Linked DNA regions of Homo sapiens: all the other regions are linked to region 2. The links are contacts of gene promoters, found by promoter capture Hi-C in blood cells and fetal thymus (Javierre and others, 2016). All regions are on one chromosome and are shown on one strand. The core of a region is centred on a gene start or on the middle of the fragment in contact, and the rest is flanking DNA. Distances in the headings are between cores, read along the strand shown. Region 1 has its middle 110 kb from the start of FGF1. Region 2 holds the start of SPRY4 (sprouty RTK signaling antagonist 4). Region 3 has its middle 180 kb from the start of FGF1. Region 4 holds the start of LOC124901096 (a long non-coding RNA gene). Region 5 has its middle 140 kb from the start of FGF1. Region 6 has its middle 160 kb from the start of SPRY4-AS1. Region 7 overlaps NDFIP1 (Nedd4 family interacting protein 1).

The links. The method cuts DNA at HindIII sites, captures the fragments that hold promoters and counts their contacts. A CHiCAGO score of 5 or more calls a contact.
Region 1: a contact is called between a fragment that was not itself captured here and the fragment with the promoter of SPRY4 in region 2, in 1 of 17 cell types (activated CD4 T cells). The highest score is 5.0, in activated CD4 T cells.
Region 3: a fragment that was not itself captured here is called in contact with the fragment with the promoter of SPRY4 in region 2 in 1 of 17 cell types (M1 macrophages); the score reaches 5.3 in M1 macrophages.
Region 4: a fragment that was not itself captured here is called in contact with the fragment with the promoter of SPRY4 in region 2 in 3 of 17 cell types (endothelial precursors, M2 macrophages and activated CD4 T cells); the score reaches 10.1 in endothelial precursors.
Region 5: a fragment that was not itself captured here is called in contact with the fragment with the promoter of SPRY4 in region 2 in 5 of 17 cell types (endothelial precursors, M2 macrophages, activated CD4 T cells and 2 more); the score reaches 18.1 in endothelial precursors.
Region 6: a fragment that was not itself captured here is called in contact with the fragment with the promoter of SPRY4 in region 2 in 1 of 17 cell types (endothelial precursors); the score reaches 6.5 in endothelial precursors.
Region 7: a contact is called between a fragment that was not itself captured here and the fragment with the promoter of SPRY4 in region 2, in 1 of 17 cell types (endothelial precursors). The highest score is 5.4, in endothelial precursors.

What each region holds. Positions count from the first base shown.
Region 1 is chr5:142,573,119-142,577,072 of GRCh38, forward strand. No RefSeq gene overlaps it. Among named protein-coding and RNA genes, the nearest start is that of FGF1, 110 kb to the right of the region's middle. The HindIII fragment of the contact is 7,425 bases long and covers 1-3,954 here.
Region 2 is chr5:142,323,150-142,326,849 of GRCh38, forward strand. It overlaps SPRY4 (sprouty RTK signaling antagonist 4), which reads right to left and starts at 1,872. Exons shown (of 2, transcript NM_001127496.3): 1 at 1,695-1,872. SPRY4-AS1 (SPRY4 antisense RNA 1) reads left to right here and starts at 2,144. Exons shown (of 4, transcript NR_120664.1): 1 at 2,144-2,221. RefSeq lists enhancers at 1-834, 835-1,797, 1,279-1,338. The HindIII fragment of the contact is 6,861 bases long and covers 1-3,700 here.
Region 3 is chr5:142,507,543-142,511,369 of GRCh38, forward strand. No RefSeq gene overlaps it. Among named protein-coding and RNA genes, the nearest start is that of FGF1, 180 kb to the right of the region's middle. The HindIII fragment of the contact is 5,361 bases long and covers 1-3,827 here.
Region 4 is chr5:142,160,500-142,164,656 of GRCh38, forward strand. The region is part of intron 2 of LOC107986455 (a long non-coding RNA gene); the gene reads right to left. It overlaps LOC124901096 (a long non-coding RNA gene), which reads left to right and starts at 3,075. Exons shown (of 2, transcript XR_007058978.1): 1 at 3,075-3,464; 2 at 3,742-4,157. The HindIII fragment of the contact is 4,540 bases long and covers 255-4,157 here.
Region 5 is chr5:142,544,356-142,548,657 of GRCh38, forward strand. No RefSeq gene overlaps it. Among named protein-coding and RNA genes, the nearest start is that of FGF1, 140 kb to the right of the region's middle. The HindIII fragment of the contact is 1,254 bases long and covers 1,155-2,408 here.
Region 6 is chr5:142,483,515-142,487,322 of GRCh38, forward strand. No RefSeq gene overlaps it. Among named protein-coding and RNA genes, the nearest start is that of SPRY4-AS1, 160 kb to the left of the region's middle. The HindIII fragment of the contact is 1,240 bases long and covers 1,117-2,356 here.
Region 7 is chr5:142,142,124-142,146,439 of GRCh38, forward strand. It overlaps NDFIP1 (Nedd4 family interacting protein 1), which reads left to right. Exons shown (of 8, transcript NM_030571.4): 7 at 2,448-2,553. The coding sequence ends at 2,551. Among named protein-coding and RNA genes, the nearest start is that of NDFIP1, 36 kb to the left of the region's middle. RefSeq lists an enhancer at 3,255-3,344. The HindIII fragment of the contact is 2,078 bases long and covers 1,805-3,882 here.

The DNA of each region.
Region 1 (3,954 bases), core at 1,009-3,508, 250 kb after region 2:
AAACAGAAAGCATAAAACTATATTGCAGGATTCTAGATTCTAACAATCTGGTATTTTGTCTGTGGAAACAGCTCAAGTGTCCATCAACAGATAAATGGATGGTGCATTCTGTCACATTTATGTCAATGTTTTGGATTTTATTGGCACCGTAACTTTGTTTTTAATTTATAAATAAATCACATATATATTTACACATTTGTTTGGGTTTAATAGTTGTTTACTATTAAACAACTTTATAGTTTAAAGAACTATAAGCATATGAGGTTTATACCTAGTTTTATATATTTGTGCATATTTTAGTAATATTATAATAAAAGTGGCTTAGGTCAACACTGGCAGGCCACAGTAGTATGTCATTAACACCCTGAACACATTAACACTGTTTACTTTAAATAAAATCCCTTAATAGCCTAAGAGACTGAACCTATTTTGATGGCTGAGAATGAAGAGGTCATGAGAAGGTTCAAAACAGAAGTTCAGAAGTGGATCTGCAGTTGGTTACGAGGCACCAGACGGGCGGGTTGATGGTTATTTTCTCTCAGCTTTTTGAAGACCAGATTCTGCTCTCTCCTGGCCACTGTCGTCGTGTTGAGAAGTCTGCTGCCACTGTAAATGCCACTGTGGAGGACATCATTCTTTCCTCCAGCTATTTTTTTTTTTTTTTTTTTGAGACAGAGTTTCACTCTTGTTGCCCAGGCTGGAGTGCAAAGGCGTGATCTCAGCTCATCGCAACCTCCGCCTCCTAGGTTCAAGCGATTCTCCTGCCTCAGCCTCCCTGGGATTACAGGCATACTCCACCACGCCCCACTAATTTTGTATTTTTAGTAGAGACGGGGTGTCACCATGTTGGTCAGGGTGGTCTCGATCTCCCGATCTCAGGTGATCTGCCTGCCTTGGCCTCCCAAGGTGCTGGGATTACAGGTGTAAGCCACCACTCCTGGGTCTTCGAGCTATTTTTAAGATATTCTCTGTAGCATTCTTCATGCTCACAAAGGTATTCCTAAATGTGGATATGGTTTTATTTGTACTGAAGGGGACTCCATGTTTTTCCTGAACCTCAGGATTCTTGTGTTTCCTCAAAACTGGAAAATCATTGGTGATAATCTCTCCACACACCATCTCACCACATTTCCACGCTTCTGTCCTACAGGAACTCCTCCTCTCATTCTATTTTTCATGCCTCTGCCCTGCTCATTTATCTCACCACATGGCATTCTGGTTAATTTCTGCAAATCTATTTTTCTGTTTTCTGTATTCTCTTCAGATGTGTTCAATATATTTAACCCATACATTAGGATTTTTTTTTTTTTTTTTTGAGATGGAGTCTTGCTCTGTCGCCCAGGCTGGAGTGCAGTGGCTCCATCTCCGCTTACTGCAAGCTCCGCCTCCCGGGTTCACGCCATTCTCCTGCCTCAGCCTCCCAAGTAGGGGAAATAATTTTTTTGTATTTTCAGTAGAGACGGGGTTTCACCGTGTTAGCCAGGATAGTCTCGATCTCCTGATCTCGTGATCCACCTGCCTCGGCCTCCCAAAGTGCTGGGATTACAGGCGTGAGCCGCCGTGCCCGGCCACATAAGGATTTTTTTAATGGAGGGGGGACGTTTATGTCATCATTTACTTTTTAAAACAACTTTATCGAGATTGAATTTATGTACAATAATGCATACCTATTTATATTTATTAATATTTATTTTAAGTTCAAAATCATCACATTTATTGCTCCTTTAATTTCCCAAGTTTTCTTTTTTTAACTTTTATTTTAGGTTTGAGGGTACCTGTGAAGGTTTGTTACATAGGTAAACTCGTGTCATGGGGGTTTGTTGTACAGATTATTTCATCACCCAGGTATTAAGCCTCGTACCCAATAAGTATTGTTTCTGTTCCTCTCCTTCCTTCCATCCTCAAGTAAACCTCAGTGTCTGTTGTTTCTTCCTTTATAAGTTCTCATCATTTAGCTCCCACTTACAAGTGAGAATGTGGTATTTGGCTTTCTGTTCCTGTGTTAGTTTGCTGAGGATAATGGCCTCCAGCTCCATCCATGTTCCCACAAAAGACTGGTCTCATTCTTTCTTATGGCTGCATAAAAAAGTACATGTGGTACATATACACCATGGAATACATGGTGTATTCCATGGTGTATATGTACCACATGTTCTTTAGTTTGTCATTGATGGACATTTAGTTTGATTTCATGTCTTTGCTATTGTTAATAGGAGCACATCTATTTAAATTGTACAATTGGATACATTTTGATGAATGTATATACCCATGAAATCACCACCACACTCAAAATACAGAACATTTCTATCAACCCTAAAACTTTCCTTATGACCCTTTGGGAAATTTTCAATAATTATTTCTTCAGATATTTTTTCTATTCCCTCCTCTCTCCTCTTCCTCTGGAATTACAATCATATGTATACTGAACATCTGGATATTGCTCCCCCAGGTCTCTAAGGTTCTCTCCATTTTTCTTCAATCTTCATTTTTTTCTGTTGTTTGGGTGTGGCATTCTGTTGCATTATCTTCATGTTCCTTGATTCTTCCTTCTGCCATTCCCAATATTCAGTTAAGCCTATCTAGTGAACTTTTAAAATGTCAGATTTTGTACTTTTCAGCTCTAGAATTTCCCCCTTTTTTATTTTATATGTGTTTTAGTTTTAATTTCTCCACTGAGAGTTCCAAGCTGTTCATTCAATGTATACCACATTTTCCTTTGATTCTTCGAACATATTTATAATAACTTGTTTAAAGATTTTTGTCTGCTAAATGCAACATCTGGAGCCACTCAGAATCAGTTTCTATTGGCTGCCTTTTTCTCTGAGTGTAGAGTGCACTTTAATGTTTCTTTGCATGTATAGTAATTTCTGGTTGAAAGTTGGGCCTTAAGGCCAGGTGCGGTGGTTCATGCCTTTGATCCCAGCACTTTGGGAGGCCAAGATGGGCGGATCACAAGGTCAGGAGATCGAGACCACCCTGGCTAACACGGTGAAACCCTGTCTCTACTAAAAATACAAAAACAAAATTAGCCAGGCATGGTGGTGGGTGCCTGTAGTCCCAGCTACTCGGGAGGCTGAGGCAGGAGAATGGTGTGAATCCAGGAGATGGAGCTTGCAGTGAGCCGAGATCCTGCCACTGCACTCCAGCCTTGGCGACAGAGCGGCCATCTCAAAAAAAAAAAAAAGAAAGAAAGAAAGAAAGTTGGGCCTTATGGATAATACATTATGGCAACTCTAGATTCTGTTGTATTCTTCTGAGGACTACTGAGTTTTTGTTCTAGTAGGCAGCTGACTTGTTTAGTCTCCAACCACAAACTTTGTCCCCCTGTGATACACAGCAGCCAATATCTCTCTTCTCATGGCTTCCTATTGCTGCTTTTCTGCCTGCCCCTTTGGGGGTTTTCCCTGTTTCTGTGTAATTTGGTAGTTAGCCAAGGATTTCAGCAGAGATGGAAGTCACCTTCTTTGTGCACTTTCTTGCTTATAGGTGCTCCCTCTCCCTGATTTGTAGCTATTTGGCCGATTTTAGGCTGTCTCTGTCATTTCAAGGCTGCAAGATTCAATTTTCTGCCACCTGCATTGTGCATGGTTAGGAAATGTACCAAGTCTGTTTGTTTGTTTGTTTGTTTTTAAAAGGCAACACATTCACATTGCTCTGTATTCAAGGGGAGATTTCTCTCTGGTTTCTGTCTCCTTTTTCACCAGGTTCCTTAGGGTCTTTTACCACATATGTGTAGTTTAGCTTTTGGCCACAGACCTGGACAGAGTTTATACTCAGAGTTTTATACTTCTTCAGTGGTTTTTCTGCTGCCAGTACTTTTCCTGTAGACTTCTAGCTACTCTTCAGCCTTGAACTCCTATCTGTGGAACCTTTAGCTAGTAAGGCTGTGGTTTTCCATGGCTGTTTTTCACAGCCCTAGCTGTGAGGGTTGGGCATCACCCTCGGGTGAGGAAG
Region 2 (3,700 bases), core at 622-3,121:
GGCCTCAGGCCAGACTGAGCTCATTAAGAGATTGATAAACCCGCAGTTCCCAACTTCTCTGAGCCTTATACCTTCCAGCTTTGAATCCCGAGAGACTTGTCAGGGAGGTTAGTGCCTCGGTCAGCTACAGACACAGACGAGTGCTTGCTCCCGCCCCTCTGCAAGTTCTTTGGCCTCCAGTGTGTCTGGCCTCTCCCAAAACTGGAGAGAATCACGCCACTGATTTGGAGGCAGGAAAGAAGGGGATGCCACTAGGTTTGGGCACCCCACTGTACACTCTTCTTTCCAGCACTAACCGCGCTGGGGGGTACGGAAGCCTTGCTGCGCCAGAAGGCGGCCTCCTGCCCTCACAGAGGCCTTGGCAATATGGATGCCCCTCCAGCAGCTGGTGAAAGAGGCAGCCAGCAGCTCCCTACTCTGCCTACCATCTAGCCCCTCCAGCCCATTTCGCCTCTCTTGCCCATCCTTCAGCCCTATAAGCCACGCAACCATTTTCTGTCTCCCCTGCCTCTCCTGCCCACAACCCCCTGCCCCCAATCAAGGAGAATTGAGAAACCGTCTTCTTGCACAAGAGCAGCTACTGTCTAAATGCTTTTTGATCGTCTGCATGGAGGGGGAACTGGGCACAGCCCTGGACCCAGTGATGGAGCCAAGCTCTAGCTGCCCTGGCTAGCCAAACCCGCCCTCACCCAGCTCACTGTCCCCGGGGTCTTGGCGATTCAGAATTTGTCAGAACATACCGTCTCTATCCTCTTCTCTGTGATGTCAAGCCTGGTACCACCAAGAAGGAAGGAGGGAAAGCAGGAGCCTTATCTCTCCTACATTCGCAACCTCTTCCTCCAGCTCCCACACGCCTGGTGTTATGTAAACGCACCTTCAACCCCCACCGCAGCCCTAGCGCGGCCTGGGGGCTCCGGGGCCTGGCACAGCTCGGTGCCCGAGGATAGGGAGGTACAGGGTGGCCGAGGAGCCTCAGGCCTTACAGAGGCCAGGCAAGAAAAAGTCAACTGCAAGGCAGTTGCATAGCATAAAATGCGGCAGCGGAGCAAAGGTCAGACGGCGAGGAACCGCCTCGCCAAGGAGAGGGAGTAGGAATGCCCAGTCCTGAGCCAGCCCCTCGCTGACCATCGAGGGAGAGGCAGAAGGGGAGGGAATTCAGTCCGTCACGGCTCCGAAGAGAAAGAAAAAATCTACGTCGAGCATAGGCCGCTACGGCGGGCTGGGAGATACACGGCAAAGCTGGCACCGTGGGCACCGAGCTGGGAGGTGGGCGAGCCGCCCAGAGCGAGGGCGCCCCCCGACCCAAACGGTGGCTCCTGACCAAGCCCAGAGACGCCCGTTCCAGCGTTCGAGGCGGATGGTGGCAGGAGAAGGAAAGAGGCCAGGCCAGAGGCAAACTCCCGGGACACGCACGGGGCTTCCCGAGTCTCAGAGGGCGGGGAAGCCGGGCTTGGCAATGCCCAGGGGTCGGAAACGGCGGTGCCAGGCTGTGAACACCCCCGGCGCCGTGCCGGCCGGGCCGAGGGCGTCAGGGAGCTGCGGCGCACCGCAGCGACTCAAGGAGGCGCAGGCTGAGGGAAGGAACACTGAGGCGCGCCTAGAAATAGCGCACCATTTGCCCCAGCCCAAGGGGGGAGTCGCGTCGCGGCTCAGAGAGGGGCAGTTTCAGATCTCCAAACCAGCCATGGACTTACTTTGAGGAGCTGCAGGGTCACAAGCATCGCCCCACGTCTGTGTAAATCCTGAAGCCGGGGCAGGTTAGCCGCCGCTGTACTCGCAGACGCCGGTCGGAGGAACCGGCAAGGCTCCCTGCGCTCCACAGCGCCAGCTCCGCGCTGTCAGCTCAGCTCGCTACCTCCGCGGCGATGTTGCAACCACTGCCTGGGAAAATGGCTTTTTTATGAATGGGAGGGAAGGGAGCGCCAGTGCGCACGCGTGCCGTTCGCGATTCTATGAATGGGTGGGCACAACAGACCCTGAGCGCGCATGCGCTCCGCTCCTTTTTTTATGAATGGGGGGCGGGAAAAGATCTTAACCCGTGATTGCTGGGACTGGCTCAAGCTCCACCAGGAGCCGTCGTTCTTTTACAAAGAGGGGTGGAGGTTCCAGTGGAGGCTGTTGTTGCCTTTTTTTTTTTTTTTTTAATGAATGGAGGGCGGCGGCGACTGCTGCAGCTGGGCCAGCTGCGCGGGCTGCACCCCCTCCCAGCCTGCGAGAGGAGGTAAAGGCCACCTTCACGCCACTGCGGGCCTGGGCAGGAACCGTCAGTGTCGCTGGGGGGTGGGGGACGCTGCGGCCTCCGGATCCCGGGTTGAGAGCAGGGTGGTGGAGGGCACACCTAGATCTGGGGATCTCTGCCCCCCGCAGGCAGTCAAAAGGGGGGGCGGGAGGACCCCTACTGGGGGCCTTCTCTTGCTCTAGACCAGAGACGCCAGGCGGGAGGGGTCTTGAAGCTGCGTTTACCAAAAATTAGGAAAATGTCCATCATTCATATCAAAGGGTGGGGTGAGGATTGGTGAGTGAATCTGGTTCTTTTTCCTGAGGCTGAATCTCTCGTGAGTGCTGGCCGCCCCTCCCCCCATTTCTTGGGTGTAGACAGTGACTGGGCCCAGGCCTCTTCCGGCTCCAGTACCCCCCGGGGCGATTCTGGCAACTCAGCCAGAGGAAGCCTGGCCCTCGCCTCCCAGCGTTCCCCCCGCCCCCCGCCCCAGTGCAATGTCCGCAGTGCCCGGGCGTCTGCCCGCTCTCTGTCGCCCTAGCTAGGTGTCCTTTCTCTGTCCCAGTCGGTTTCCCAGCCCTCACAGGACGCTGGCCTGAGGAGCCTCGGTCCACCGAAGGCCCACGGCCCTTCGCTGTTGTAGGCGCCTTTCCCCAATATCCCCCACCTCTCACCGGCCTCCCCTCCGGGGAAGTGGGAGCGGCCGAGAACTGGCCAGGTGGATGGGTGGAGCCGGCTGCGCCGAGGATGCTGCCGGGGTGGCCTCAGGATTAAATAACAACGGGGCTCTTGAGCCGCAGAGGAAATGGAAATGGCTGGGGATCCTTTCTTCGCTGTTAATGATGGTGGCGTTGGGGGGCGGGGGTGAGGATCAGCTCAAGCCGGTGAAAAGAAAAGCCCCCGCCATTAGGCCTGACTCCAGGAAGGCGGGGAGCCCTCGCAGCAGGCCCTGCTCCTCCCTGGAACGGAGGAGCCTGTAGCCTCCGGGAAGTCCGGGGCGGGGGGTGGCTTTGATGCGTGGATAAGAGCAGAGTCTGGGCCAGGGCTTGGCCCTGAGTCCCTTGTAAGGTCTGTCTTGCCGCTGTTCTGGCCGCACGGGGAGATTGTGTGGCAGTCTTTTTCTTCCTACGCCACTATAGGATTGTGCTTGGCTGTTGTCAGAGGAACCAATGAAAGGCTCCCAGCCCAGGGCTGAGGTCTGGCCTAGGGCTGGGGCTGGGACTCTAGAGGCAGGCAGCCCAAGGTCACCGAGTCCTAGCCTAAAATGCCTTCTCACCATTCGGCTCACCCCTCCGTGTACTTACCCAGCTCCTGAGGGCAGAGCAGACTCTCCCCTAGGGAACCTCAGCCTTCCTTTCAGGGGCGAGACCTTTCTCTAAGACCAAGAGAACTCTTCGCCAGAAAAATGGGTACAGTTGTCCAGGACTTCCTTTTAAGGCTGTTGAAGTTCAGTATCGCCCTCTCTGTCAGCTGTAGAAACTG
Region 3 (3,827 bases), core at 278-2,777, 180 kb after region 2:
TCAGCGATGGATATTGTCAACAAGTTCCCCCGGTTTTTCCGATACAGGTAGCCCGCAGGCCTCACACTGAAAAATGTTGTCATAGGAACTGTGACTATGACTAATCAGTTTTACCCTGTGGAGCATGAAGGTGGGTGTATTAGTCTCTGTCAATGTTTTCCAGAGTTATAGTCGCCTCTCTCTATAGAGAAGGAGAGTTGTTTACAGAATTATGCAGACTGCTGGTGAGGGGACAAACCGATTCACCATTTCTGCTTTCAGCCGGACTCAGAGTTGTAGTTGCTGAAATGTCAGTATCTATTATTCCTCAGGGACCTGATGACTACAGAGCTGACGACTACAGACCTGACATTTTCCTTTTCTCGAGGTTCTTAGCTTTCTTTCAGATTCAAGCCAACCACGCCACATGACTTTCTTGAGGGAACAAGAAAATCTAGTATATCATAAATATTAACTTTTCAGAAGTCTCCACTGCCAGAGCGTGTTAGGCAGCTTATTCAAGGTGCCGATGTTATTGTGCTATCTGCCCCATGCTCAGCTCTTTTCTGTAATTCATATTTCTTCCAAAGTGGACTCTGCCACTGACTGACTGGATTCCTTTCCAGACGTTTCGATCTCCTTCCTGTCTGACATTTCTTGGCTCTCAACCCCCCACATCAAGTTGTATGTGGCCGCTGTCGTACAGCTAGATTAGATGATGTTTACTTTGTTCTGCAGGAGTGTTTGTCAGGGTTTTATGTAAGATTAAAGAAATCTCCGTAAGTTAAGACACCGTGCGCCGGGCTGCCTTCCATGCACTGGCCTTTGGCAGTCGCAAAAGATCTTTTACCCTGTACCATCTTTGGCTGCTTGACCGAAGCAAATGCCTATTGCTTTTGGCTTTTTTATGTTTGTTGCTGTTAGAGAACTCAGCAGAAACCTCCAGATAAACGCTTTAGTTGTCCAGGTAGGAAACCAAAGTGGACCCTGGGCAGTTTTATTTGGAGACCTCTTCTGCTTTTGTGATTGTGTGTGTGCTGGTGGTACTGGAATACAGGTCTCTGGGTTGGAGAGCTTGTGTTCCGGATGCTGGCAATTTGATGTGAATGTGCTAGGGGAAGTCTGTATAGATTATCTTATTGGAAAGGCCAGATGGCAGCAAGCTCTAGAGTTCTAAGTCCCACTTTGCTCAAAGGTGCCTGAGGAATAGCAGCCTACTGACAGCTTGAAGTATGGTGCACTGGATAATTGGCTTCCTCATTTAGTAATTTGTCTGCTTTCTTTCCTCTTCCTCTGCTTCCTCTCTTCTTGTAAACTGATAGCCTCCTGCCTCTTCAATAGACTGATAAAGAGTCCCTGAGCAGCAGCTAAAGGGAGGGGGTGGCCAGAGCCCCAGGTGGAGAGAGTCATTTGGAAAACTGACACAGAAAATTACCATCCTTCTTTTCTGCTTTTCCTCTGCTTCGGTATCTCGATTTTAGTCTCTCCCTTTCATTTTCCTGTTATCTTCCATCACTGTCCCTTGCCACTTCATCTTATATATATATTTTTCTTTTATGGAAAAGAAAATTTCTTTGCTATTTTGTCTCTTTCTTTCTACTTTTTTCATCTTTCCCTTTTTTTTCTTTTATCCCCCTCATTCTGTTCCCTTTGCCTTCTTTGCTTTTGCAATTGTTCTAGTTAAAACTTAATTCAAAACAGGAAATTGCATCACATTTATTCAGGTTAAATTACCTTTTCCTTTTTTCATGTTTTTCTCTCCAAGGAAGAAAAAAAAATTGAAAAGCACATTTCCGGCTCCTTCTGGCACCTCCATCCCCTCAAATGTGTTTATCTTTAGGTGTTGGAAGTCTCAGGACACAACATTTCTGCTTCATTGAAAGTGCAGATGCACCCTCAGAGCTTTTACCCTTGGACCTGGAGAATGACGTCTGCTTTCACTTAATAAGTCATTTTGTTCTCCAGGTGGAATTCAGATTATTCCGTGGCAAATTTAGGAGAAGACCTGCCCCTGGTGCTGGAAGAGTTGGGTCAGATGCCTTAGCCTGTTTGCAGTCTGGAGGGTTGACATTGAAGTTCACCAGCTCCTCAAAATGCCCCCAGATGTTGAGCCATCCTGACAACAGAGGTAGAAGAAGGTCTCTGCCTCTGCCTTGTGGTAGACCAGTTGACTCCCCGGTCACCTACTGTTCCTTCTACCATCATAAGGCAGCCTGAGTGAACACCACTGACAAGGGACCTTGTTCAGAGGTAGGGGGACAGCTGCTGCATTCCACTACTCATCCCCATTTTTTTTTCTTATAGTTTACAGAGGCTGCCTGGGCCAGTGGCTCCCATTTTGTTTTAGAGAGCAGAGAATGGACCCTGGAGTCAGGATACTCCAGTTCAAATCCCACCTCTACCAACTGTGCTGTGACCTTAGGCAAATCACTCTGCCTCTCTGAACCTCAGTTCCCACCTGAGCTTCATGAGGAACTTTTGGCTGTTTTGTTCATAGCTGTATCCCCAGCATCTATCATACCTGACACATAGGAGGTGTTCAATTAAATACATTCCAGGGATGAATGTAGTGGTTAAGAACAAGGACTTCATGCCAGATTGCCTGAGTTCAAATTCCAGCTTGCCACTTACTAAGTATGTGAACGCGGGCAAGTCACTTCATCTGCTGGGCTCAATTTCTTCATCTGGGAAGACATAAACGATTGGCATTGATGTCCGAAGCCTACCGTAACAGATTACCACTGACTTGGTAGCTTAAAACAATAGGAATGTATTCTCTCAGTGGCGAAGGGCAGAAGTCCAAAATCAAGGTGTTAACAGAGCCATGCCCGCTCTGAAGGCTCTAGGGGAGAATCCCCTCTTGCCTCTTCTAGCTTCTGGTGGCACCAGGTGGTCATTGGCTGTGGCAGCATCACTCCAGCCTCTGCCTAGTTCTTCACTTGGCCTTTTCTTCTTCTCTGTGTCTTCTCCTCTTCCATCTCCTATAAAGACATTTGTCACTGGGTTTAGGACATGCCCCAATAATCCAAGTTAATTTCATCTTGAGATCTTAACTTAATTATACCCACAGATATCCTTTTTCCAAATAAAGTCCCATCTACGAGTTCTAGGGGTTAGGATGTGGTCATGTCTTTTTAGGGACCACCATTCAACCCACTACAGGGTTGCCGTGTTGATCAGTTGAGCTAATATATATCAAATGCTTAGTTAGGACAGTGCCTTGCATGCAGTAAGAGCAAATTAAGTGCTTTTTAAATTTTATCTTCAATTTTTTAATTTTTTTTTTTTTAAGAGATAGGGTTTTGCAATGTTGTCTAGGCTGGACTCAAACTTCTGGGCTCAAGGGATCCTCCTGCCTCAGTCTCCTGAGTAGCTGGGACTATAGGTGTGAGCCACTGCACCTAGATTAGTGCTTTTTCAGATCTTACAATAATCCTATAATAAAAGCTGAGACAGAAGTTGTAAATTACTACAGTGTCTGGCACATGGTAAGTGCTCAGGGGATGTTAGTTATTAATTTAACAATTTTGGACCAAAGGCCTACTGTGTGTCAGGTATTCTGTTCTAAGTGCCAGGAATGCAGTAATAATAAATAATAAGTAATTAATAATAATAAAGGACAAAGAACACCAAAAAGGCTTTCCCCTTGCCTGTGCTTACATTCCAGTGTTTTTGTGAATACAATTCTCACCAGCCCCACCATCATCATAAATGCCAGCCTTGTAATACCAAGCTACCCAAACAAGATGCTGAAGAATGAGTTTCCTATGTGGAAGGGGTCAATGAAGACAGCCCATAGTCAAACCAAATTTCTGCTTGTGGTTTCAAAAGGATGAAAGATCCATTTT
Region 4 (4,157 bases), core at 1,275-3,774, 160 kb before region 2:
CTAACTTAATTTTCACCAGAAGGGCACTTTTAAAGATGTTCGTAAAACCAAATGCCCTCAAAGGAGAGATTACTGCCACTTGAAGAGGCCACCCCCAAAAGGGCCAAAAGGATGGGGGAACATCTCAGGGTGCTATGTGGCCAGGACCTAGAAAACCAGCTGCCAAGGGGACTTGTGACTGTTAGCCTAGGGCTTGAGCCCTCGCTCCCCATTTACTGGCTGTGTAATCTTGGGTCATTTGCATGTCCTATCCAAGCTTTGGTTTTCTAATCTGTGTGCTGGAATATTTTCTCACAGGGCCATTTTTAGGGAGGTAAAGTGCCCAGCATCTAGCAAACAGCTCTTCACAGCTGATCAGCTATAGTATTGGGTCTAAGGGCAGGACATGAAAAGCCCAAACCTATAATTCAAACCGAGGGAATTCATTTCCTTTTCAGGACCGTATAGCTCTCATAAACCCTGCCTTTCCTCATTCCTTCTTTCCTAAATGTCATTAGGCCATCCCTGATAAATCAGATCATTCTTATCCTCCTAAATTCCTGCAGCCCAGATGAGAATATGATTTACTATTGCTTTTCTGGTAATATTATCATATGTTTATGTGGGAACTTATATACATGTTCATTTGATCTTCACAGATTACTATAAAAGGGATTATTTTGCGTTCTTTACCACCAAGCAACCAAAGCCTCCCTCCCCCGGCAAATAATTTTCCAACACTCACTAACATCAAAACACTCTACAGATTCAATAAACTTTGATTCTCATTTCCTTTCCTGAGTTCTATAGGCTGAAACTCTGGCCTCTTTTTTGCTTAGTCCATTTGTATTACATTACAAGACTTGCCGTATACTATCTTTGTATGGATTTAGGTATTCGAAGCAGCCTTTGAACTTCTTATCCTTTGCTTTGTTTCTTTCTGCACTGGCCTTACATTCTCTGCTCTTTTCCCTGCCCTTTCCATGTCTTCTTTGCCGCCCTCTCGACACCTCCCCCTTCCCCTACGTTTCCAGTGCTGCTTAGATCACTCTTGTTACTTCTCTGTCCTAAATTCCTACACAACTGTAGATAGGGCCATTTTCTCAGTGGCCGCTCTCCCTTTCCTTTCTCCAAATCTTAACCCTGGGCCATTTGAACCCTAGTTACTTCTTTTTTTTGTTTTGTTTTGGTTTTTTGGTTTGTTTGTTTTGAGACGAAGTCTCACTCTTGTCCCCAGGCTGGAGTGCAATGGCGTGATCTTGACTCACTGCAACCTCCGACTCCTGGGTTCACGTGGTTCTCCTGCCTCAGCCTCCCGAGTAGCTGGGATTACAGGCGCCTGCCACCGTGCCCGGCTAACTTTTGTATTTTTAGTAGAGATGGGGGTTTCACCATGTTGGTGAGGCTGGTCTCGAACTCCTGACCTCAGGTGATCTGCCCGCCTTGGCCTCCCAAAGTGCTAGGATTACAGGCGTGAGCTACCGCGCCCGGCCTAACCCTAGTTGCTTTCTATCTTCCCATTCCATCTAGCCGCATCCAACAAGAAAACCACATGCCTGCTTTCTCTTCCTGAAGCTCTCCAAGGAACGTTCCTGTATGCCCCTGGATAGATGGTTCCAGCCTGTGTCTGTGCCCCCCAACCCAGTCCTGCCAATCCAAGCCTGCCCAGATAGGGCCTGCCTGTTTTCCCCTTTATTGGGGGATCTGGGGAGCTTTTCACAGTGGTGGCATTTGTCACAGTGTTCACAGGCTCACCTCTTCATGCCCCTTCAGTACTAGTTTGGCTTGGCCATTAAACAGAAAGCATTGGGGTGTCCTCTGCTCTTTGTTCTCTCTCACTATATAGATCACCTCCAATGGCATCTGCATGAATCTATGACAACTCTCGGGCCTCCATGGAGAAGCACCTGGCTAGTCCCAAATTTCATAATCCTTCTGATGCTTCTGAATTACCTTCCACAAAACACTAGGATTCTATAAACTTTTAATTGGAATTTTATCTTTTAAAAACAGCCTTAATCATGTAATAAGATGTATTTTCAAATATGTGTTCAATTGTGTGGTTATTTGTGATCTCATTTACAGACATGAACAAATACTAAAACAATATATAAATAAATTTACTCAGAGTATTTGGGATCTCAGATTTTGTTTTACAAAAAGGGTTCTGCAGCTGAAAAAAAAATGGCTTGAAAACCACTGCCCTAAGTAAACACTCATCTCTTACTTTGCCTAAAACTGTTAGACCGTTATACATTTTTTTTCCTCCGTCAATCTTACAGGGGTTTCAAAATGCCCTGATTTTGCAAAACTTATGAGCACATCTAAAAAGTCACTTTCTAAGCCTACTATCTCCAAAAATCAACTGTTTGTTCTTTTTCAGACTTGTTTTTGTGAATTTATTATTTTTACATAGGTAGTACTAGCATACTGGCACAGCCCAGTGAGATGAGGTCTCTTAAGCCATTCTGTTTATATCAGATGTTAAATTTTTTAAATAGTCTTTGCTGCAGTGTAGATTATCTTGTCTTTTTCTGCTTTTCAGCTCGTTCTGACAAATGCCCCATGATGTTTTTGTTTTTGTTTTTTGAGACTGAGTTTCACTCTTGTTGCCCAGGCTGGAATGCAATGGTGCCTTCTCGGCTCACTGCAACCTCCACTTCCCTGGTTCAAGTGATTCTTCTGCCTCAGTCTCCCGTGTAGCTGGGATTATAGGCGCCCGTCACCACACTCGGCTAATTTTTATATGTTTAGTAGAGACGGAGCTTCACCATTTTGGCCAGGTTGGTCTCGAACTCCTGACCTCAAGCGATCCGCCCTCCTCGGCCTCCCCAAGTGCTGGGATTACAGGTGTGAGCCACCACAACTGGCCTCGATGATTTTTTTTTTTTTTTTTTTTGAGAAGGAGTTTCGCTCTGTCGTCCAGGCTGGAGTGCAGTGGCGCAATCTCGGCTCACTGCAAGCTCCGCCTCCCGAGTTCACGCCATTCTCCTGCCTCAGCCTCCTGAGTAGCTGGGACTACAGGCGCCCGCTACCACACTCGGCTAATTTTTTGTATTTTTAGTAGAGACGGGGTTTCACCGTGGTCTCAATCTCCTGACCTCGTGATCCGCCCGCCTCGGCGTCCCAAAGTGCTAGGATTACAGGCTTGAGCCACCGCGCCCAGCCGATGATGGTGTTTTTAAAGCCAACTTCTAATACCTCTTTTTTCCATTGCTTCATTGCCAAGAGGAATAATTAGACTGTTGCAACAATTATGACAAAGGCGTCCTATACCCTTGGTCTTCTTTCATCCATAGGGCATCCAGAAGAGACCTGGTTTCTCTGTTGATTGGAAGTTCACATCAAATTCCTTGACCCTGGGATTAAACCTACAGTAAACATGTGTATTTTTGTGTTGCAGATGCGTATCATAGATGGATAGTAATGAATACCATTTATTGAGCATTTATCATGTGCGAAGTACTCTGCTTTCTTCTTCACAGGTAGATTTAATCATCTCCCCAACCCTTTGAGGTAGGGAATACTGTGATCCTTGTTGTATATTTTTAAAAAAATGGAGACTCATGTTAACTGACTTGCCCCTTACCGTCCTTAAGTGGGGAGGCTGGGATTAATTTGGTTTGTGTTGTTAGAGCATGAACTCTTTAACAACAATAGAACACTCATCATCTTTCCTGTGTGTGCACCTGCTTCCATTTCTTTTTATTCTCCTGTCCCTTCTTGATCTACACTTTAACACATTCCTTTCTCTTCCCACAGGATTCCCTTTATTGAAGGTGGGAATGAGGGGGATTCTGGACTGCAGGCACAGGACATCTGCCCTCCCACAGCAGCCTGAGATGTTTTCTTCTTTGTGCATGTTCCCCATGAAGTGGGCTCATACCCCTCCATCAGTGTGCCTCCCCACCTCACCTGGAGCGTGGCTTCAGTGCCCCCACCGCCACCCCCAGCTTGTACTGCAGGGTTTTTTTTTATCCTTTCTCTAAGCCAGTGAGATAGGCACAGCTGATAGTATGAACCTTTCTAGCTAAGAGTCAGATCAAGTGCTGGACAGAGACATGACAAGTTCTCTCAATTAAGCAAAATGGTATCTCGAGACAGGATTTCAATTCTAATTTCATATTAATAGCTTACATTTATTCAACATTTATTGTGTTCAAGTGCTGCTACAGTCC
Region 5 (4,302 bases), core at 532-3,031, 220 kb after region 2:
ATAGCTGGCGGAAATGCTGCCTGGGTAGCATCATGTGCACAGCTTAAAGCCGGACACATGCTTACCTCCTTTGTGGAGTAGCAGGGAGGCTGGAGCAGAGTTAGCCACAGGAGCGGGTGTAGGAGGTGCCATGGGAGAGCTGCGGCAAGTCACAGAGGGCTTGGGGGCCTGGGCAGACTGTGGCTTCTACTCTGTATGACATGGGGAGGCCCCTCGAGGGTCTAGAACCAATGGGCACCATGACGTGGCTTAGGTTCTAAAAGGCTTCCTCTGGCTGCTGTGTGGCAAAAAGAATGGGATGGGTGGCTTGGCAAGAGGGGAGGAACGAGACCAAGTAGGAGGCTTTGTAGTAATCCAGGTGAGAGGGATGGCAACCCAGACTAGTGGAAGTGATGAGAGATGGTCAGATTTTGAATATGCTTTGAAGGCAGGGCCAGTGAGATTTGCTGATGATTTGAAAGTGGGACATGAGAGTGGGAGCCAGGGATAGTTTTGAGGCTGTCAAGCTGAGCACTTTGCAGAATGATTTCCTGGCCATTTAGCGAGATGGAAAAGCAGGCTTGAGGAGAACTCAAGGGTTGACTTTGGGTATAGGTTTTAGAAGCTTTGTTGAGCCTGTAGGGAGAGGCCAAGTAGGCAGTCTCACGTAGGAGGGTGAAGTCCTAGCTTGAGACCTTCACTGGCATGGTGACCACTGAGCCCTGACAAGCCAAGGGCCCAAGAGGATGGGGCCAAACATGGGGCCAGTGTCAGCTGACACGGATGCCAAACCTGCATGATCACAGTCCTCAAGTCTGGAACAATTCTCCTACATAGTTACCAGGGAAATCTACCAGGGTTGAAATTCCACCCCTCTGAGTAATTCAGGGGCCTTATTTAGTCTGTTGTCTTCATGCTAATGTTCTTTTCCTTTATCTCTATACCCTTATGCTATTTATTGATCAAAGAACCATAAAGTTACTTGTTTTTAACAAGACAGAATACCACAGCATGGAGGTTTCACTTTAGGATTTAAACATTTTGGCTTTTTACTGCTAACTAATGGGCCTGCAGGCTAGGAAACATAAAAGGACCCTCATTTGTATTCCTAGTGAATAACCATCCTGTGTCTGGGAAAGCCTGGCAGTAAATGACAGGTAAGGCTGGGGCAGGGAAGCTTCAGGTCCCTTCTTTGCAGAGGCCTAATGGACCACCAGTCCCTAGACTGATTGATGTCAGGCAAGAACGTCCAGGGAGTCTGCCACTGTCTGCTCCAAAACAGGATTTAGTCCTTCCTAACCTTGGGAATTTCTGAAGCCCCAATTCCTTTATGACTGTTTACTATCCTTAGTCCCCTGGGATCTAGTATAATCAGCTGGTGGATTCCTTTTTCCTTAAACCTAAGTCTGAAGCCCCATGGGCCTTTCCCATAGCATAAATAACATTCTATTCCTGTACATATTGCCTCATTCACAGGAAGTAGTCTCTAAATTACATCACAGGCCAGTTCTACTGTATTCCATTGACGTTTATTATGGAACCATTGTAGGAATGACATGGTTCCTGTCTCCAAAAGCTAGCTAGCATATCCTATCCATTATGTTCAAGATTCTGGAGCGGGTGGCAGAAATGGGAGAAACACAGGTGACTGAAATCCCAGGATGTCTCATCATCCTCTCTAGGTTGTAGCAAATCTTTTCTCCAAATATTTCCCTAAGTTCATAGGGGTGAGTGTATGACAAAGCATGATAACTTAGCTATGCCGTTGGCTGACATGATGGAATGCTAAACACATTTATCTTTGGAAAGTAGATTAGAGGGGAAAAAAGTGGGTTATATCAGTGTTGCAGAAAACCACTAGTCATCTCCCAGTATCTACCCTTCTCTTCTTCTGTGGTGATAACATTAAAGCCCCAATTTTAAGCTGGGCATATGGCCACTTGGGATTAAGACTATATTTCCCAAATTCCCTTGCAGCTAGGTAGGCCATAAGACTGAGTTCTGGCCAGTGTGAGTAGGTTAAAGTGTCTAGGGGCAGCTCTTAGAAACCCACTTAAGAGGCATTGTGTATACACACTTTCCCCTTCTTCTTCATGCCTGCCTTTGTCCTGCTGTCTGAAATGCAAATACTGCCATCTTGGTTGAGTCCATGGATGATGAAACAAGAGAGAAGGAACAGCCCGCCATGCACTGACTGTCGTCAAGGCTTCTTATATGATAGAGAATAAACTTTTATTTATTGGAGGGTTTCTGTTCCTCACAGCTGAACCTAATCTCAATTCAACTAGCTAAATATTCCTCCAATTAGAGTGCTTAGCGACAGGCTCCACAGTATCATTCTCAGCTGCTGAGAACAATGTGCCCATTCCTGCCGAGTCATGGAATCTTTACTCCAAGAGATGGTAATATATCATCAAGATCATTCTAAAAGCTTAATGCAGTGAGCATCACTTAATACCTGAATACCAAAAAGTGAAAATAATGGTTTCATGTCTAATGGGACTTGAGTTCACATGTCCCCTCAGCCACAGGGACTTGTGCTGGCAGACACCACTGTCCTCTGCTTTGGTATTTCTATCACTTGGACTCTAGATATAGGTGAATAAAGCCAACATGGTTTGTTGTTTTTTTTTTTGAGATGGAGTCTCGCTCTGTCGCCCAGGCTGGAGGGCAGTGGCGTGATCTCAGCTCACTACAAGCTCCGCCTCCCGGGTTCACGCGATTCTCCTACCTCAGCCTCCCGAGTAGCTGGGACCACAGGCGCCCGCCACCACACCGAGATAATTTTTTTGTATTTTTAGGAGAGATGGGGTTTCACCGTGTTAGCCAGGATGGTCTCGATCTCCTGACATTGTGATCCACCCATCTCGGCCTCCCAAGGTGCTGGGATTACAGGCGTGAGCCACCACGCCCGGCCAAAGCCAACATGGTTTCTAAAGACAGATGAGAGAAGTACCTACCATTTCCTGAGGCTGGCTTTACCAAGGACGTAACACGTGTAAATTATTCAAACAATACAGAAATGTATAGTAAAACGTGCCCCATATCCCATGACCCCTTATCTAAAAGTCATGATGTTAAAAGCTTTCAGGATATCCTTCTAGATATTTTCCATGTATGTAGAGCCCTTCCTTTTAAAAAGCACACATATACACACATATATATAAACATAAATGGGATTGTACTGCACACACTGTAATATACTTTGCTTTTACATTTAATCATAGTTCTAAACATCTGTCCAAAACAGCATATATATACATCGACTTCTGACTGCATAGAATTCCATTGTACAGTAGATGTACCGTAATTTATTTCACCAATTTCCTGTTAATAGACATTTGTTTCCAGAGTCTTGCTCTGGAAGTCTGGACAAAGATTGCTGCAACGGATTCCTTTGCACATCTATCTATGTACCAATACATTGGTAGACGTGATTCATAGAATTGGAGTTGCTAGGTTAAATCGTATGTTAAATATCTAAGTAGTGCTCCCTGCAGTTACGTTCCCAGCAACTGTGCCAAAGCTGCTTTTTAAACTCAGATGGAAACCACAATTGGACATTAACTTTATTTCTTATTCACTTATTACTTTTGTTATCTGGGTTTCTGTTCAGAGAAAGAATGACGTCTGACTTTTGTTCAAAAGACAAATGAGAAGCAGGTGAGTGATCTGCTTCAGTATAATGCTTTCTTTTGTTTAAAGTGCATTATGGGCAAAAGTTCTGTCTTATTGCTGAAAAGATGCTAGTGATTATTCTTATTCAAGAATTCAAGATATAGGCAAACAGGAGGTCAAGGCTGCAGTGAGCTGTGATTGCATCACTGCACTCCAGCCTGGGCAACAGAGCGTGACGCTGTCAAAAAAAAAAAAAGATAGAGGCATATTAAGCTCTCAAGAAATGATGGAACTAGCAGAAAATCATTGGAGAGGCAGAATAGGGAATGCCACCAGGAATATAAAACCTGGTCTTCTAGATCCCAGGCTACAGAGGGGTTATTTCACCACAAATACAAAATGACTTTGAAAATAGAATTATATTCTAAATAGAATATAGGTAATAGAAAGATACCTTATTTAAAGACTGGAAGAAGATCCACATTTAGGGCTCATCAATATACTGTGATCTCTGACCACCCAACCCTATACTTGACACTTCCCCTCTCTTCTCAGAATCTTTTAAAAGCAGTCTCAGAGTATATGCAGCAGTAGTAGTGGTGATGATGGAGATAATGGAGTTTTTTTGTTTGTTTGTTTTTTCTTTATCCCCAATATCCAGCGAGCTGCTTGGATAAATGCTTAAAACAAGATGAAAATCTTTGT
Region 6 (3,808 bases), core at 487-2,986, 160 kb after region 2:
TGTCTTGGGATGGTCTATCTGGGCATCTGGCTCTGCCAGGAGAAGATGAGTTTCTTGAGGACATGGACTGCCGTGTCCCCAGCGTGGGTGGCCATGCCTGTCGTGCAGGGGACTGTTGATCAATGATAATGGGTGCATGCATCTAGCAGAGACACAACTGTTCTGTACGGGCAGGAACCCCAAGGGATGGTCTGTTCTGTTCTCCGTCTCTGCACCTCAATACCCCAAAATTGTTTCTGACAGATGGATGTTTAGCATGTTCTTGAAGGAAGAAGCGTCTGTGCCCCCTCTAGGGAAATGCACGCTGGGTTTAACCGCATAATTCAAAACAGGTGAAATGATGCCGGCATACCCACCTCTTCTAGCCTGGATTCTGTTTTAATGCCCTAGCTTTTACAGGAATAAAAGAGTATTGATTTTTCCACTGCAAGGGCTGTAGCCAGATTTGTTATTATTTTTAAATCAGAGATACTTTTTAAAACATGGAAATTTTTATGTTAGCTAAATCCTAGTTATCCCAGGAATGCCTAATGTCAAATAGTAGCCTTTCCTGGCATATTTCTCCTCCTGCATTTTTTAAAAAGAGCTTTCTGTTTGTTTGTTTCTTTTTGCCTCATAGCAGCTCTGCCATTAAATACATAAGACACAAAAGAGAGACAATCTAAATAATTATCCTTAGGAAATTTTATTAAGATACGGGTGGGAAGAGGGGGCACAGAGGCCACTGCCTCCTTGCGAGCTCAGATGCTCACCGATGTTGCTGTGTATCACCCCTCGCTTCTGCTCGCCCTGTATCAAAACATAGTTTAGGGAAAAGGTCACTGTGAATTTAGAGATGACATCTGGAATTGTATGTCAAGAAGCTTGAGTGTGTTGTGAGTGCTCTTCTGGTGGGCAGTTCCCTACTCCTCAGGGTTCCTCCCCTGGATCACAGAATGTGGACCACCAAGACACCCATGCTCTGGGGTCTCTGGCAGCCCTGTAATGCTGCAGCCACAAACCATGAGGGGCTTCTCTTCTTTTATCTTCTTTGTCATAATCAAAACCTTGACCTGTGACAGTGAGCTGCCAGGGGACTCCATTGCCTTGGAGTCTCCCTGGCTCCCCAGGATAGAAAGCTTCATCAGAAAAGAAATGCCCACTGAAAGTTGCTATGGCAGATGTCCCCCGTAAAAGAAACCTGAAGACCTTGAATAAAGGTGGCACCCAAGTGCCTACTCTGTTTAAAGAATGTGTGCAGCATCCAGCAAACAGGAATGCATGCTCATTTTCTTTATGTGGATTGGTGTTAACGGTTGGGTGACATGCTGGGGCTTTGATGACACCACTTGCATCTGTGAGTTGATGGGGCATCTGCAAGAGTGGAGTTAAGTTTAGTCCATCTTGGTTATGGTGGATGCTTCTGGAGTGAGTTAAGCACAGGAAAAGGGGCGGAACACTCACCCAAACCAGGATGTGTACCAGAGAGGGCTCCATTGTCTACAGCTCTCAAGGCTGTGTGTGATGCTGTGACTGCCTCCCCTCCCAGAGCTTCCTGCCTCCCAGGAAGAATGATCATTCCACTGTGCCTGCACATTCCTTCCCCTCTGCTGATAGGAACTTAGCCTCCAAGGGTTTGAAAACCAGCCTCCAGGGCTTGCTCTGCTCTTTACCCATTGCTGCTTATAAGTCAGGACCTGTGAGTGATAAACCTCTCCACCCCAGCCTTCACACCAAATGGAAAAAGATGGGCACCTTGGAGTATTCCTTTGAAAGATTACTGATTTCTCCACCCCACCACCACCTCCATCATGAAAGGTCCATCGATAGCCATCAGATTTCTGAACACACTCAGGTTTAGTGTCCCCTGCTATGCACCAGCCTTGGAGGCCTGGACACCCCTCCTGTTATTGGTGGATCCAGCCAGTGGTGCCTGACTCTTTTGCTCCTCACCTCCACCACCTCCTCTTGGACTTGGTTCTGTTGTTCATCCCTGTGTGGTACATGTCTATGGCCTTTCTTTCACCAGTGGCTTATTTCTCCCATTAAGATGTCCAAGTCTCACTGATCCTTAAAAGGGACCATCCCATGGCCCCATATCCTCTCTAGCCTCCACCCCAACTTTCTTTTCTCTTTCTCACCCAAGTAGTCTATGTGAACTCTGTCCACTTAACTCTCATCCTCTACCCAACTCATCGCTCTCTGGCTTCTTCCCTCACCATGCGAGGGAGCAACGCTCCCTGTGGCACCCACAGCTCATCTCCCCAGTGCTGTGTCTCCTTTGGCTCCTCCTGTCTTTGGACCTCCCTGCTGCACCTGGCCCAGGTGGGCACTGCCTCCAGCTTCAAACTCTCCTCTCTTAGCTTTTGAGACTTCAAGCTTTCTTGCTTCTGCCCCAATTTATTTGACCATTTCTTTCTCTTCTATATGAATTTCTCTTCTATTTCTAAAAACTTGATGGCCCCAGGGATACTTCCCTGACTGCTTCTCATTCTACTTCATCTCTGGGCAATGGCACCCACAGTCAGGGCTTCTGCTGCCACCTAAATGCCGGTGACTCCAAGATGTATATCTGCAGCTCAGACCTCTTCCCCATCAGAGGTGTCAGATGGAAATGTCCTCAGGGGCCAAGCAGGTAAAGAAAATGAATGAAACTGACTGTGAGTGTGGCAGACCAGAGAGCTGCTGGTTTTAGCCAAAGTGGGTGGCTGCTGCTGGGCTCCAGCCAACTCTTGATGCATAGGAATTCAGAGCCAGTGTCACCAGATTTTCCAATTTTCCCACAGAAGCTAGAAATACATAATCCTATTTGGAATCTCTCAAAGAGTAAATGTTGGTTCAATTTTTTTTTTAACATCTTTCTGAACCAAAGCCCATCCGAGAACTAGATCTGACTATGGACCACCACCCTGGGATCATGGTTTGCACTCCACTGACTGTTCAATGTCTTATTCCAGTGCCCATGGGCACTTCAAATTGAGCCTGCCCCAGACCATCTCTTCCCCAAACCCACCTCTCCTCCCCACCGTGTACCTTATCTCAGTTAGCAAACTTCCTTCTAACCTGCTCACCCAAGCTGGAAATATGGATGAGGGTGTCCTTTCCTTCCTCCTTTCCCTCCTCCTCCCACATTCACTAAACTCTACCAACATAACTTGCTAAATAAATCTTACCTATTCTTACTTCCCCATCCCTTACCACCATTATTGTAGCTTGGGCTGCTAGCATCTGTTGCCTGGCCCAGTAGCCTTTCAAGAGTTTTGACTGATGATTCATAGCAGTTGACTCTCACCATGTGTAAATTATGCTAAGCCAGACATGTAAACTTATCCCCTGACAATGATTGATTTTGGAATGGGGTGTGTGACCCAATCGGGGCCAGTGAGATGGGAGGGAGGGTTTGCTGGGAAGCTTCTGGAAAAGTTATCTTGCTAAGAAAGAGATACATAAAATAGGCCAGGCATGGTGGCTCACGCCTATAATTCCAGCACTTTGGGAAGCCGAGGTGGGTGGATCACTTGAGGTCAGGAGTTCAAGAACAGCCTGGCCAATATGGTGAAACCCCATCTCTACTAAAAATACAAAAATTAGCCAGGCATGGTGGTGTGCACTTGTAGTCCCAGTTTCTCAGGAGGCTAAGGCAGGAGTATTGCTTGAGCCCGAGAGGAGGAGGTTGTAGTGAGCCGAGAGCATGCCACTGCATTCCAGCCTGGGCAATGGGAGTGAACCCTGTCTCAAAAAAAAAAAAAAAAAAAAAAAAAAAGATACATAGAAGAGATGGCTCCCTTCTGTCTATGGTCATCACTGTGCCTGGATGCCTGGATGTCAC
Region 7 (4,316 bases), core at 1,594-4,093, 180 kb before region 2:
GACAGTGTCTCTAAAAACAAAACAAAACAGTTCAGGACCTGTTTTGCCAAAACTGACAGAGCCTTGCATTGCTGACCCTACATTTTACTTAGAAAACATAAATCATTCATCGCACCATCTACCACCTCCTCAACAGCATCATGTACTCTATGATTGGTCATTAGAATTCTAAGGAAAGAGAAATAGTAATTTTTTTTCCTCTATTGATTATTGAGAACTTCAGTAATAAAAATGACCAACAGGAGAATAATTTAGAAGAAATAGTTCCTTGGCTTGCTTATTTTCTAAACTGTACCTTTAAGAGAAAGGCTGACCACCCGTGTTTCCCCAAGTCAAATCCTGAATGGACCAAAGAGGAGCCCTTAAGCGTATGTTCAGATTGATTGCTTATGGCATAAATAATTTAAAGAAATTTAATGGATTGATTCCCTTTTAAAGTTTCATGGGAGGAGGTTTTATAATCCTTCATCATTGATCATTCTTGCTATGTACCATTTGCTTGTAAGCAAAAAATAAGAGTTTGGCCCGGCGTGGTGGCTCATGCCTGTAATCCCAGCACTTTGGGAGGCCGAGGCAGGCAGATAACTTGAGGTCAGGAGTTCGAGACCAGCATGGCCACCGTGGTGAAACCCCGTCTCTACTAAAAATACAAAAATTAGCTGGCTGTGGTTGCTCATGCCTATGATCCCAGCTACTTGGGAGGAGAATGGCTTGAACCCGAGAGACGGAGGTTGCGGTGAGCTGAGATCGTGCCACTGCACTCCAGCCTGGGTAACAGAGCAAGATTCCATCTCAAAAAAAAAAAAAAAAAAAAAAAATATATATATATATATATATATATATATTAATAAGAGTTTGGATACACTTATGAGCATTTGTGCCCAATATTCGGGTCATTTTGGGAACTTCCCTTTTGAAGAGAACCAGTTTAATGGTGTTTTGTCTTGCAGAGCTCTGTGCAGAGCTCCCAAGCTGGCTGCTCTTGAGCTATAGTTAGCCTATAGTTTATTTGTTCCACAGTTATTTTTCAAGTTTTTTTAAATTAGTTGCCAACATTTTAAAAATCAAAATTATTTCACATAAAACGCCTGAATGTTTTTACTTTTCTTGAAAGTTGGAATATCAAGAAAAGCTAGCCTACATTTCACATGGCACCCTTTGGCTGGAGCTGAGTTGTTGCTGTCTCCTCCATACAGGTCATGTGCCTTCCAGTTCAGTAAGATCCCACCACCATACCCCAACTTAGTATTTGAAGGGGTAACCCCTGCTCAATAGTCACTTGTTGCTTTGGGTCCCAAACAGAATGATGTTCCCCAAGCTCAGAGCTGACAGCTCTTGGTTACTGCTAAAAATCAGTTCAACTGTCCAAGTACCATTTTCTACCACTGAGTATCCCAGTAAAAGTATTTAAAAAAAAAAATGTGCTAAAGGCTCAGAGACCATCTCTGAAAGAGGAAGGCCAGGAGGAGTATCTGAGTTTCCACTGGAGGGGCATATCACCTCTCTGCTGACAGTTTTAGGAGGTACAAACTTTTGTGAATGTATAGATTCTGGTGTAGTCACACAAAAAGAGTCTTACTAAGAATAGAGAAATAGGCTGGGTACAGTGGTTGACACCTATAATCCCAACTCTTTGGGAGGCTGAGACAGGAGAATCACTTGAGCCTAGGAGTTGAAGGCCAGCCTGAGCAACATAGCGAGACCCCTATCTCTACAGAAAATTAAAAAATTAGCTGGGCATGAACCTGTTATCTTAGCTACTTGGGAAGCAGAGGCAGGAGGATCATCTGGGCCCAGGAATTCAAGCTTGCAGAGGCTGTGATCATACCGCTGCACTCCAGCCTGGGCAACAGAGCAAGACCCTGTCTGTTAATAATAATAATAATAATAATAATAATAATAATAGTAGACAAAGTTTCAAGTTGAGACGATGAGAATTGCTGTAATAGATAAGGGGATCCTGACATCTAGTGGACAACATTATATACTGTCGACAGAAAAAACAGCCCATGACAAGGAAGGTTACATTTTTTCTTTTTACTTGAGAAAAACACAGTTATAACCTCTTTTTGTTGTTGTTGTTGTTGTTGTTGTTTGGAGTTCATTATCTTGGAATGCTTTTTTGGAACTCAATAGGTAGATTTTGATGTTTCTCAATGAGGCTTTCATATGTAAATGTTTGGCTCCATCTTATTTTTTATTTCCTTTTTAGACCAATTCAATTCTGAATGTGCAAAAGACACTATTGACTCTTACATTATACCTTCTCATTGAAGGATGGATAATTTGGTATGAAAATCCTCTGCAGATTCTGGAGGAAATTGCTAATGTTTTGATTACCTTTAGCAGAAAAATAACAATGTATCGCTATCAGGAGAGGGATTTCTGGGGAGGGGACTTAACATGGAAATTATAAATTCATTCATGACTTTTCTTTTTTAAATTAGGCTTTCTCCTGTTTCTCAGAGGATTTATCAATTATGCAAAAGTTCGGAAGATGCCAGAAACTTTCTCAAATCTCCCCAGGACCAGAGTTCTCTTTATTTATTAAAGGTATTAAAGAAAAAATTTATTCTAGTCCCAGTGTAACCATGTGCTACATTGTAGATTTCTGTTCAGTTTTAGAGTAAGTATCTGTGATAGGGGCATATAGAGAAAGTAAAGAAGGCACAGTCCCTGCCTTTTAGCAGTTTCTTGTCTAGTAACAGGGATTTTTACAAAAAGCTATTGATAAAGTCAAATTAGAAAAACTGCCATAGGAGAAATCATTACTTCATGCTTTGACAGTGTGAAAGAGGCAGGGGTCTTAGCAGTCATCAGAAAGCTGGGATATTTGGCTGCTTGACTGAATTCCAGCATCCTGAAGCCACTGCTTACTGTTGCACCAGTTCCAGAGGATGACATTCAGAAGGAACCCTTCAGGCCTAATCACTCATCTCTGCCCCTAAATCCCAGAACCTGGAGAGACTGTGTAGTACTTTAAGAACTCCTTTTGTCTGGGCTGCTGACAAGCCCACCAAGTCTTCCATCTTTTAAAATTGTCATTGAGGCTTTCCCCATGGCTTTCTTCAGGTTGACATTCTGATACCACTCTAATGTGAGGAAGGTCAAACTCAAGAAAAGAGGAGAAAGGACCTTTTCCCTTGCCTAGAACAGGAGGACTAAGCCCTGCCAAGGCTCTTTGATTCACACATGATTTTCCCCAGAGGCTGACACTCCATCTTACATCAATGGCTGCCTGAAGGAAGAGGTAGAGAATCTTGAGAAAGAGTACACCAGAGAGAGCTCTCTGTGGTAGCAAGTTCTAATAGGCTTTCTTGGACTTGGCTGTTTGTTCCTTGGGGCTTTGGGGACTGTGTTAATCATAGAGTGGAACCTTGAGCACCACCTAGAGGCCAGTCCAGTTGAAGGTCTTAGGCAAAGCATTATAAAGGATAGGTGGTGTAGTTCAGATAAACTTTACATGATAGTGGAGAGTGTGGGGAAGAATTTCAGAATCATCTGAGGCAGAGTGAAGAGCAAAAATAGGGAAGTATGGGGCTTGTTCAGAGGATAGCAGCTTGATTGGGGCATAAAGGAGTATTGAGGGTCAAGGCTAAAAAGTCAGGTTGAAACAAGTTTCTCAGATACCTTGAGCACCAAGCCCATTTGCAGTAGAACCATGAAATTGATAGAGCCAGCGACATGTTGGGTCAATGCAAGACTAAGCCCACGTGGAGCACGAATTTGTTCTGTACTCGCAGAGTGTCAGTTTATATAGGCAATCATATACTAATCGTGAGGTTCTCAATTTTGAAGACTTGTGGTGGTCTCAGGAGGTATGCTTCAAGAAAATAAAGCATCTACCATAGTTGATTTTCCAGGTGATAGAACAGCATTGAAAGCTTTTAGGCAACAGAATCATATAATGAGACCCTCTTGAATATAACAAACATTTTTTCAAGCATAGTATAGTAAACTAAAATTAACACTCATGGAGTTTTCCATGTGTCAGATAATATATTAAGCATTTTACATGGATAATTAAATGTATGTAGGTAAAGAAGGCTTAAACTGCTTTTAAAGTTAGTTTCATTATTAAAAAAACTAGTATTCATTATTAAAAAACAGGAATCTTTGATTGCATGTCTGAAAATGTGTAGCATGTCATGAATTTGAATTCAGTCACACAGTCTGGACACAGATGGATATTCATACCACTGGCCTGGGCCTTAATGCCTACAATGTGTCTTTGTTTATGTCTAGAACATAAGAGACTTATTAGATATTCTTTGCAGTTTTATTTAGTTACCATTGTCATCTTTCATCTATATATC